2 separate regions of the Homo sapiens genome follow, and region 2 is linked to region 1. Evidence: promoter capture Hi-C in human tissues and cell types (Jung and others, 2019). All regions are on one chromosome and are shown on one strand. Each heading gives the region's core, a stretch centred on a gene start or on the middle of the fragment in contact. The rest is flanking DNA. Distances are from core to core; before and after follow the strand shown. Region 1 holds the start of NPSR1 (neuropeptide S receptor 1). Region 2 overlaps NPSR1-AS1 (NPSR1 antisense RNA 1).

Evidence for each region. Contacts are between HindIII fragments. The study calls those that stand out against the background at their distance.
Region 2: a contact is called between a fragment that was not itself captured here and the fragment with the promoter of NPSR1 in region 1, in 3 of the 25 tissues and cell types used here (H1 embryonic stem cells, bladder and neural progenitor cells).

Annotation. Positions count from the first base shown.
Region 1 is chr7:34,654,956-34,659,829 of GRCh38, forward strand. NPSR1 (neuropeptide S receptor 1) reads left to right here and starts at 3,263. Exons shown (of 9, transcript NM_207172.2): 1 at 3,263-3,604. The coding sequence starts at 3,458. The region is part of intron 2 of NPSR1-AS1 (NPSR1 antisense RNA 1); the gene reads right to left. RefSeq lists an enhancer at 1-641. The HindIII fragment of the contact is 11,658 bases long and covers 869-4,874 here.
Region 2 is chr7:34,393,870-34,399,034 of GRCh38, forward strand. All of the region lies in intron 3 of NPSR1-AS1 (NPSR1 antisense RNA 1), which reads right to left. Among named protein-coding and RNA genes, the nearest start is that of NPSR1, 260 kb to the right of the region's middle. The HindIII fragment of the contact is 5,164 bases long and covers 1-3,836 here.

The DNA of each region.
Region 1 (4,874 bases), core at 2,013-4,512:
TCCACCATTGTGATTTGTTCCTGCCCCACCCTAACTGATCAAGGTACTTTGTAATCTCCCCCACCCTTAAGAAGGTTCTTTGTAATTCTCCCCACCCTTGAGAATGTACTTTGTGAGATCCACCCCTGCCCGCAAAACATTGCTCTTAACTTCACCGCCTATCCCAAAACGTATAAGAACTAATGATAATCCACCACCCTTTGCTGACTCTCTTTTCAGACTCAGCCCACCTGCACCCAGGTGAAATAAACAGCCATGTTGCTCACACAAAGCCTGTTTGGTGCTCTCTTCACACGGACGCGCATGAAAGCAAGCTGGAGACCCAGGAGAGCTGATGTGTAGTTCCAGTCTGAGTATGAAGGCCTGAGAACCAGGAGAGCCAATGGTGTAGTTCCAGTCTGAAAGCTGGCAGGCTTGAGACCCAGGAAGAACTGATGTTTCAGTTCAAGCCCAAAAGCCAGAAAAAAAACAATGTCCCAGCTCAAAGAAGTCAGGCAAGAGGAGTTCCCCGCTTTTCACAGAAGAATTAGCCTATTTATTCTATTCAGGCCTTTAATTGAATGGATGAGAGCCATTCACATTAGGGAGGGCAATCTGCTTTACTCAGTCTGCCAATTCAAATGCTAATCTCATCCAGAGCCACCTCACAGACACACCCAGAATAATGTTTAACTATTTGGGCACTCCATGGCCCAGTCAAACTGACACATACAGTTAATCATTATACCATGTTAGTTTGTCTTCTTGTCCACTCAACTTTCTTCTAACTACTGTATAGTATTCCATTGTGTTATATACATGCACAGTTATACTTTATAAAGATGAAAGGGCTGGGCACAGTGGCTCACACCTGTAATCCCAGCACTTTGGGAGGCCGAGGCAGGTGGATCACGAGGTCAGGAGATCAAGACCATCCTGGCTAACATGGTGAAACCCTGTCTCTACTAAAAATACAAAAAATTAGCCAGGCGTGGTGGCAGGCGCCTGTAGTCCCAGCTACTTGGGAGGTTGAGGCAGGAGAATGGCGTGAACCCAGGAGGCAGAACTTGCAGTAAGCCGAGATCGTGCCATTGCACTCCAGCCTGGGCAACAGAAAAAGACTCCATCTCAAAAAAAAAAAAAAAAAAAAAGGAAACAACCATATTTATTATTTTGCTTAATATTATGTTTGTAAGTTCCATTTATGTTATTTTTGGCTACAGATCATTTTCTTATTGCTATATAGTATTTCATTGTGTGACTACATGAAAATTTATTCATCCAGTTGATGGACATTTGGGTGGTTTCCAGTTTGGGATGATTCATTGATTTTGACATCATGAATATTTAGGTTGCTTCTGATACGTTTCTTTAATACTTTGCGAAGGCATCATTTTGCATGACTGCTTGTATAGATACATAAATGTTTCTCTTGGGTGGCCACAGGTTAAACAATGGTCTATCTGGATCATGAATGGAGAGAAAAGGAAACAACCAGAAAGCTCTCTCTCCCCACCTATTCTCTGTCCATGGCATCTGCCACTTTCTCTCACTCTGCCCCTACCACACTGTGACCTAACCAGCTTCTACCTTCTCCCAGGAGTTCCTCACAGATTTTGTCTTATAAACATTTTCTTGAAGTAAAACATACCTACAGAAAAGTGCATATGTTTTAAGTATGTAGTGCAAAGAATTTATGTGAATTGAGCATATGTAAGTAACCCAGATAGAGATGAAAAATTATTAGCATCTAGAAATGGAACAATGCATTAGAGGATATGTAATTCCAGCTTTACTAAATACTGCTGAATTGCTTTTCAAAAATTACCACATCAACTAACTCTCACCAGAAGTAAAGATGTACACCCGTTTCCCTTCAATCTTGTCAGCACTTGGGGATAGCCACACGCTAGCTTTCACTATAATAATAGGTAAACATTCTTACTGGTTTTAGTTATTTTCCTTAATTTTTAATATGGTTGAGCCTATCTTCATACTCATTTGTTAGTTGGAATATGCTGCACTTGTTTTGCTATTGAGTTGTTGTCCTGTTTTGAACCTTTCCTTAAGAGTCCACAGCTTATCCAGTTTTCTACACAACTCACTTCTGTTTGCTGCCCTTCATTATAGACTCAATGCCTTCTCATTGCTAGAGCACTGTGCCCTCCTTGGGGCTCGATGGTTTATAATAAAGCTTCCCCAGGAGATCTCATGGGGGCCAGGTTCTTTAGTGGTGGCCACTAAAGCTACTACCTCTTATTCCAGGTGCCATAAACCAGTGGCTGGACCTGGTTGGTTCACAGAGTGTTCTCAATGTGAGGAATCAGGTATTGTGCTTGGTTGTCATATAAGCAGCTTAGTTCCCATTGTTTTATACCTGGCCTGCTACCCTCATTCATGTTACCTTCATGCCCCATAGACATTTGAGATTTGATGCAAACCAGTCTGTTACAGTAAAAGCACCACTGTCTAGGAAGTTCTGGAGATGGGTTATCAGCTCATTTACATCAGCAGCTGCGGGATCTTGGGCAAGTCATTTCACCTATTGGAGCCACTCTCTGCTAGCATAAAGGAGAACATAAAGATACCTTCCCTGCCTATCTCACAAGGTTGTTTGGGAAACTGAATGAAAGAACGTGTAAATGTGCTTTGCAGGTTTTTTGTGAAACAGGAATAGCTGTTAGTATTCTCGCCTAGCCCTGTCTGTGGTGCCCAGGATGCTGCATTACCTCCTTTCTACCCTCGCCCTGAGTATTGGTCCTAGGTAGAAGCTGAGGTGAATATACTGAAAGCAGTAAGAATCTTCACCAGGCCCCTCCCAGTCATATCACAAGGTGTTGTAGCTTATTGACAAACACAGACCTCATGTTTCTCTGAGAACCGCCCTGTGAACACCTAGATAGAACTAAGGGTGTGAAATACAAACGTACTATTTGCCTACACTTACGGAAATAAGAGCACATGACACAGTAGATGGCAAGGTGAGGCTTTAAGTCAGAAAGCAACCTCAGCTGAAACAAATGCATAATTATAATTTGATTTCAGAAGTGGAAACATGACCCGAATTCATGCACCTACTGATTAGTCCAAATTCCTTTATTGTTGAAGCTGGAGCAGAAGTGGGGGTCCACCGTGGAAGTAAGGAAAAGCAAAACAGAACAGGGGTCTCATCCAGGGAGCCATGTCGATGGCTATGGGGAGCTCCACCTTGCTCTTGGGGTGGGGCCCTGGCCCTGGGTGGGACTGTGGGGTGATGAGGGTTGTGCTATGCTGGCTACCTGGTGGTAATTGCCAAGGAGAGAGCAGCACGTAGATCCTCCCTGTCATCAGGCAGAGCTCTTCAGTGAGGTGGGCTCAGGGAGGGCTCTGTGCCTCCGTTCAGCAGAGCTGCAGCTGCTGCCCAGCTCTCAGGAGGCAAGCTGGACTCCCTCACTCAGCTGCAGGAGCAAGGACAGTGAGGCTCAACCCCGCCTGAGCCATGCCAGCCAACTTCACAGAGGGCAGCTTCGATTCCAGTGGGACCGGGCAGACGCTGGATTCTTCCCCAGTGGCTTGCACTGAAACAGTGACTTTTACTGAAGTGGTGGAAGGAAAGGAATGGGGTTCCTTCTACTACTCCTTTAAGGTAAGTTTCTTGCCTGCGACTCTGAACACTGACTTATAACAATGAGACTGCTGGAACTTAAGAGTGTCAATTGAAGTATCATAGCCAGTATTGTGAATGAGTGTTATTTTCTTTACTAAAAAGGATTTTTAAAAGTCTGAAGTGCTAAAACAACAAGCTGTAGTGTGCAGAGACCTAGATTGTAGTTTCTTAGGAATACAGGTGACGTTTTTCTTTCTGATGCTGCTGGAAATGTGTGAATCGTGAGTAACATTTATGAGTGGATGATTTTTACTTTCCCCCTTTCCTTAGGTGAAAGCACTTTTAATTAATCCTATAGCAGTACTTGAAATGTCTGTTTCTAGTAGGGGTTAGAGCTATGAGTTTTTTGCTAGGAACACCAGAGATGCGGAAAGCTCACAATCCCCAGGACAGTGACTGATATGATGAGAAACAACATTGAATAAGGCAGGAAGGACGACACTTTCTTTGATGATCCTTTTCATTAAACATCAGTGAGGAATATATTTCTTTGAGGGTAGTTGATGATGCCACCATTTGCAACAAATTACCTCCTAGAACAAATGAAGGACAGAGAGTTTGGTGAGTTTCACCTTCAAAGTATCCAAGGGCCACACTGAGGAAGGATCTTCATTAAGCTAATACTGTATTGTTTCTTATTCCGCAACAAGATCTTGTGGACAGAAATGAACCGCACATTTGGGAAAAGAACAGTTTCCTGCTTCTTGCCTCAGAATGCTGGGTTGTCAGGTTATTTCACACCTGTCTAACGATATGTTTAGTCATTGCAATAATTCACAGGTCTCAAACTGGTCCTTTCCACTGAAGAAAAAATACTTCAAAAAGATTCTAGTTGTTGCTTTGTTGGGTTTTGTTGTTGTTGTTGTTGTTAATCCTCTGTATGTTCTTGAAATGATTTGGTTTTTACACAATGAGATAGCATTACTGTAACATCCACCTCCCTACTGGAAGTTCACTTCTTTTGCAAATATTCAGAATAAAACTTTCAGCAGGGTGCTGTCCCAGGAGTCAGACTTAAACTTCCAGGGCCCTAATGATCCTGCAGCAAAGCAGAACCTGAGCAAACTACTCCTCCACTGGCTTCAGTGAAACCCTGTCCCTTGGAATCACCTCCTAATGCATATGCACATACGCAGCCCAGCTGCACAGCTCCACGATGTAGCTTAGAAAGTAAAATTAGAGTTTGTTGCCACTTAATGTCGACTGAATAATCCCCTTTATGAAATCAGCCTGCAGACCCAGAGAGTCT
Region 2 (5,165 bases), core at 5-2,504, 260 kb before region 1:
ATGCTCAAAATAGAATCACAGATCACTATAAAATAATAGTCATTTATTTAGCCAAAGTGATACACCTAACTGGGTACAAGGTACCTGGGAGTTTCCTTATTCTATTTAACTTTTTACATTAATCACACTTATTTTAACTATAACAAGTATCGGCTATTCTACACAATTCAAGGTGCAAGGATGTCAATCTTAATAAAATTAATAAAATACAATTAAGTATAGAGCTTATTCAAGCATGAAGCTTTAGGAGAAGCACTGACTCCAAATGAATAGGTCAGTTTTTCCAAAGTGAAGAGGTTAAAGTTTCAATCATATAGGCAGAAACAGAGAAGTTCCAGCAGTATTAAACATTTTTATACTATACCAGGTATACACACCACAGCAATCTGAATGACTATAGATTGATACATTCCAAGGAATATTGCTTTATTATTTCATGAGGAGAGGTAGTGATCTGAGGGGGTCTTATCTCTGGCATCTTAGGTATTAGTTATTTCTAGAAACAGGAGAAAAAAGTGTAGAAGTTTGCAGTTGCATGCCACGAGGCTCAGGATATTTAATGTTCCAGCAGCTTTAGGTTTAATTTACTTTAAGTTTGCATTATTTAATTTCACATTTCCCTCTTTCAATTGAGATCTTTCAAAGACAGCATCATGGATAAACTCAAACAGTTTTGGCTTGAAGGAAATAAAAATATTTTACCCCAAAATATATTTCTTTGAAATATTTTGAGATGGCTGACCAGAGGGCCTGCAGACAGTAGTCCTGTAATGCTGTCTTTTGTGGGCAAGATTTTCGTTTGTAGACAAAATCTGCATTGATGCAGTGAGGACTTCTTTGAAGGCCTTCCCTTGTCTGATCTAGAAAAGATTAACTGAGAGCCTGACACACTTAAAGATCTGAAAGAAACATTTGCCACGTATTCTTTTTGAGATCTGTTACCAGTGAGATTTCATTTACATAACAAGACCATCTTTGCTAGCCAAGCTTCCTCTTCTCTCCCTCCCATAACCTGTCTTGCCACTGTAATCTGATTTACCACCATAATCTGTTTTGGGCCATGCTCTGAGCCCTTTCTGTCACTTCAATCATGATATGTAAGTTTCTGTATTCCTTGAAGAACGGGTAATCACTCTAATTCTTGCCAATGTGCGCATTAATAATAAATTTGTATGCCTTTTCTCTAATTAATCTGCCTTTTGTGAGTTGAGTTTTTCAGTGAACCTTCAGAGAGAAAAAAGAAAAGATTTCTTTTGGCCTTTACAGGCTCTTTTTATGTTCAAGAACTTAGTCCTACATTGCTAGAAAGGCTCATTCACGGAGTGTCGTGTCTTATGGCAGGAGGAATTTATCAAGCTATAAAGTTGATAGGGCATAGGACAAATTTAAAGCAGCATGAGGAAAGTGACTTTGTAACCTGAGACAGGCTACCAGACTACATCTTTAATTAATGCAATTTATTTGAGTAACCATTATTTTAGTTTCTTTAGTTGTATATTGACTCCATTGTGAACAAATGCCACAGCAGCAGTGAAGACAAAAAGAGGACAAAACACAACAAATGATTATAATTCCTAGAATAAGTAAAAGCTTTTTCCACCAGTTTTCTCAGTATCAAAACCAGCTACTTACCCAATCACTTGGAGAGACTGTTGTATCTAAAAGTTTAGTTATTCGGGTTTTTATATCAGCCATTACTTTAGTGATGTTATCTGATTCATCTGGGATACAGGCACAACACTCAGTTTTTATCATTGTGCATGTTCCCTCTTGGGCTGCAGTGAGTATGTCTAAAGCCACACTGTTCTGTATTAGAGCCTTTCTTCATTGTTTCGTAACGAGATACCCATAAGACTATTATTTAGGGCCTTTTTTATATAATTGGTTACGGCCTCTACACACCAAATGAAATCCTCAGTAACCAGTTGCAGGAGAAAGACAGAAGCTAAATGATCACGTCAATAGAATACAGAAAAATTCCAACAAGATTGTAAATGAGGAAGATTTGCAGGTTTTGAAAGGGTACGAACTTAGCCTGGTATCCAGGAATAGCCTCAAAGACACCATCCTAACCATCTTGGGGGTAGCTAAGCCTGTAGATTGATCGTGCACAGCCAAGATGTTTCGTTTAGAGATAACTAATAGATAGTCATGGTACCCATTCAGTGGCACGCCAACCAGTACTTTGTCATATAATGTTGTGGATACACTGTTCTTTGAGTATCTATCCCACATCACTAGTGTTACTGGGCCATGTATCGTTGGTGTGATATTTTTTGTTCCCAACATAAAGGGGTGAGCTAAGTGACCAAAAGAGGGGAAAAGCCATATTAAACCATCCCAAATTTGTTATACTATCACAGAATTCAGTTGTCCTAACTCTCGGTTGTGTTAACACCAGTGAAAAGGCTAACAAACTGGTTTCTTTTACCAAAAAGCTCACCTCATGCCTTTTGCTTTGTGAAGTATTATGAATAGGTCAGTGATGTACATCATCTTTAGTCCTACAAGTGCTAAGCACTGATGACTATTGTAGAAAAACTAATATATTTATAATACTCTATCCAATCTTGTCCTTGGAGAGGAGATATCCACCATGTAGGTCACAAACACTAGAGAGGAGCATGAGGCCACATACCAGCTTTAAAGATTATTTTTTCTTTTGCTTACATCACAAAGATTCACATCCTCTTTTCAGAGATAAACTTTTTTCTCCATAACCAAAATTTTGAATGAGGGAAAAGGTTGTAAAAACTCTAATGAGTCATTTCAAACAAAATCTGATCCTCAAAGAAAAATGAAAACCACAAATGTGCAATTAGCAGGCTCTCTAGAGAATAACAAATGAAATTCCTGTCTCACAGTAGAGCTTTAATACCAATCCCATCAAGTTAAAAATGTGTGTGGCTCAAATACTGTCTGAATCTTCAACCAAACCTGGGAGGATTTGGACCAAGAGGGGCCTTATCAGAGATCCCTGCTGACTTGGGTGAGGTCAGGTGAATGACGTCATTTATGTTGAATGTCACTTTTAAAAAAACTTTCCAAAATCTAAGTAAGAGTTGCCATGATCCCCACTTCTACGTTCCCTGGATTGTCACAAAAACAAACAAAACCTTTTTGCAGGTTAAAGTATCTGTGGAGGGTTGGGGGATCAGGGGAGACCATTGGTAGTCTCACAGAAACAAGTAGGGTCATTTTCTGCTGCTGCTGTCACCACCATATAATGTCATAGGTCCTCTTTGACTTTCCGTTGTCTCTCGACTACTTTAGCCCTAGTGATATCTCAACTACCAAGGCTCATGAGGTCCCATAAAGGAGGGTGAAGTTCCATGAAAGAGATTCTCTTTCTTCTTGTCTAGGCTCCCAAGCCTGGGGCACTAAGTGCCCATTCTTTGAAGAATCCCACCAACCATTTACCCCATGGCCACTTTAGTTTAAAGTCTGTCACCTTAGATGTAATGTACTTAAGTGCTTCAGGATGTTCTTGGAAAAAAAACTCTACGACCTTTGTTTTTTATCTCAATGCTAAGGAGCTATTTCTCTTTTAAGTCCTTAAAAAGATTTTAAATTCCTTAAAAAGATCTTTTAAATCCTTCCCATCTACCATACTTAGAAAATAAATCCAAATTATTTCAAGGAACTTAGGGTCTTCAAAGACTCAGGGAAATTTCTATATTTAACCGTTATCTATTCTTCTCATGTCTTCAGAGGAAATGAACCTGAGAAGAGTATTTCATTTCTCTTATATGCCCAGAAATATTGTTTTATGCATAATCCCAGCATACTTAATAAAAGGATGATTTACAAAGTATAGCAAGTATGTCAAAAAAATCACAAAGTATTTTAGTTATTTATTGCTGTATAACAAATTACCCTAAAACTTAGTAGCTTAAAACAACAAACATTTGTTACCTCATGGTTTCTTTCAGGCAGGTATTCCGGCACAGTTTAGCTAGTTGTCTCTGGCTCAAAGTCTCATACAAGATTGAAGTCAAGCTATCCTCCAGGGATGCAGTCTCACTGAAAGACCTGACTGGGGATAAAGAAGTGGCTTCCAAGCTCATTCACATTGGTGTGAATAAGTCTTGATCCCATGAGGTAAAGGTTTCTCCACAGGGCTGTTCTAGGTCATAGCAGCTGGCTTCCTCCAAGGCAAGTGATCCAAGAGAGAGTGGCCAGGGCAGGAGTCAAAGCCTTTTTATAAACTTATCTCAGAAGTGACATCCTAGCTCATGTTCTTTATTCATTTGTTAGAAGTGAGTTAATAAATTCCACTCACATTCAAGAGGAGAGAATCACACAACAGTGTGACTACTGCAAAGCAGGAATCATTGGGGGCCATCTTAGAGGCTACCTTAGTTGTCCAGGCTGCTATAACAAAACTATCATAGACTGGGGATTTAAACAACAACAAACATTTATGTCTTACAGTTCTGAAGGCTAGGAAATCCAAAATCAAGCCTCCAGAAGATTTGGTATGTGGCAAGGCCTCACTTTTTGGTTCATAGATGTCCATCTTCTCTCTGTGTCCTCACATGGTGGAAAAGGTGAAGGGGCTTTCTTGGGTCTCTTTTATAAGGGCACCAATCCCTTTATGCACTGCATTGTCTTGGCCTAATTACCTTCCAAAGCCTACCTCCTAGTGCCATCACATTGAGGATTAGGATTTCAACATATACATTTTGAGAGGACACAAACATTCAGTCCATTACAGAGGCTGCCTACCCCAAAAGGGGTGGTGAAGTATTCTAGGGTTCATTGCTGCTGAGTTGTTTTCATCCCTAGGGCAAAGGAGGAAGGGGTGAGAGAAGTTTCCAGAACCTGGATGATTAGATCTATGTGAGGATGACAGTCTTGAGAGACATCCTTTGGTCAAGGGAACAGGTATTCCGAGATGACCCCGAAGAGGAGGAGCTAGGAGAATAAATACCCTTACCTTCTTCTTCTCTCTCTCTTCATCTATTGCTGGGTCTTTCAGCTGGCAGAACCCAGTGAGATGCCATGAGGCCAGAGAGCACAGTAATGCAGTTCACACACGTCAGCCTACCAAGGCTGAGAGTGGTTACAGAGTGGGTCTGCAGGGGCAGACAGAAGACATCCAGCATATTATGCTTCTGTATCTGGAAAATTTCCTCCCAGGGAATCCGTGTTTAAAAGATTGA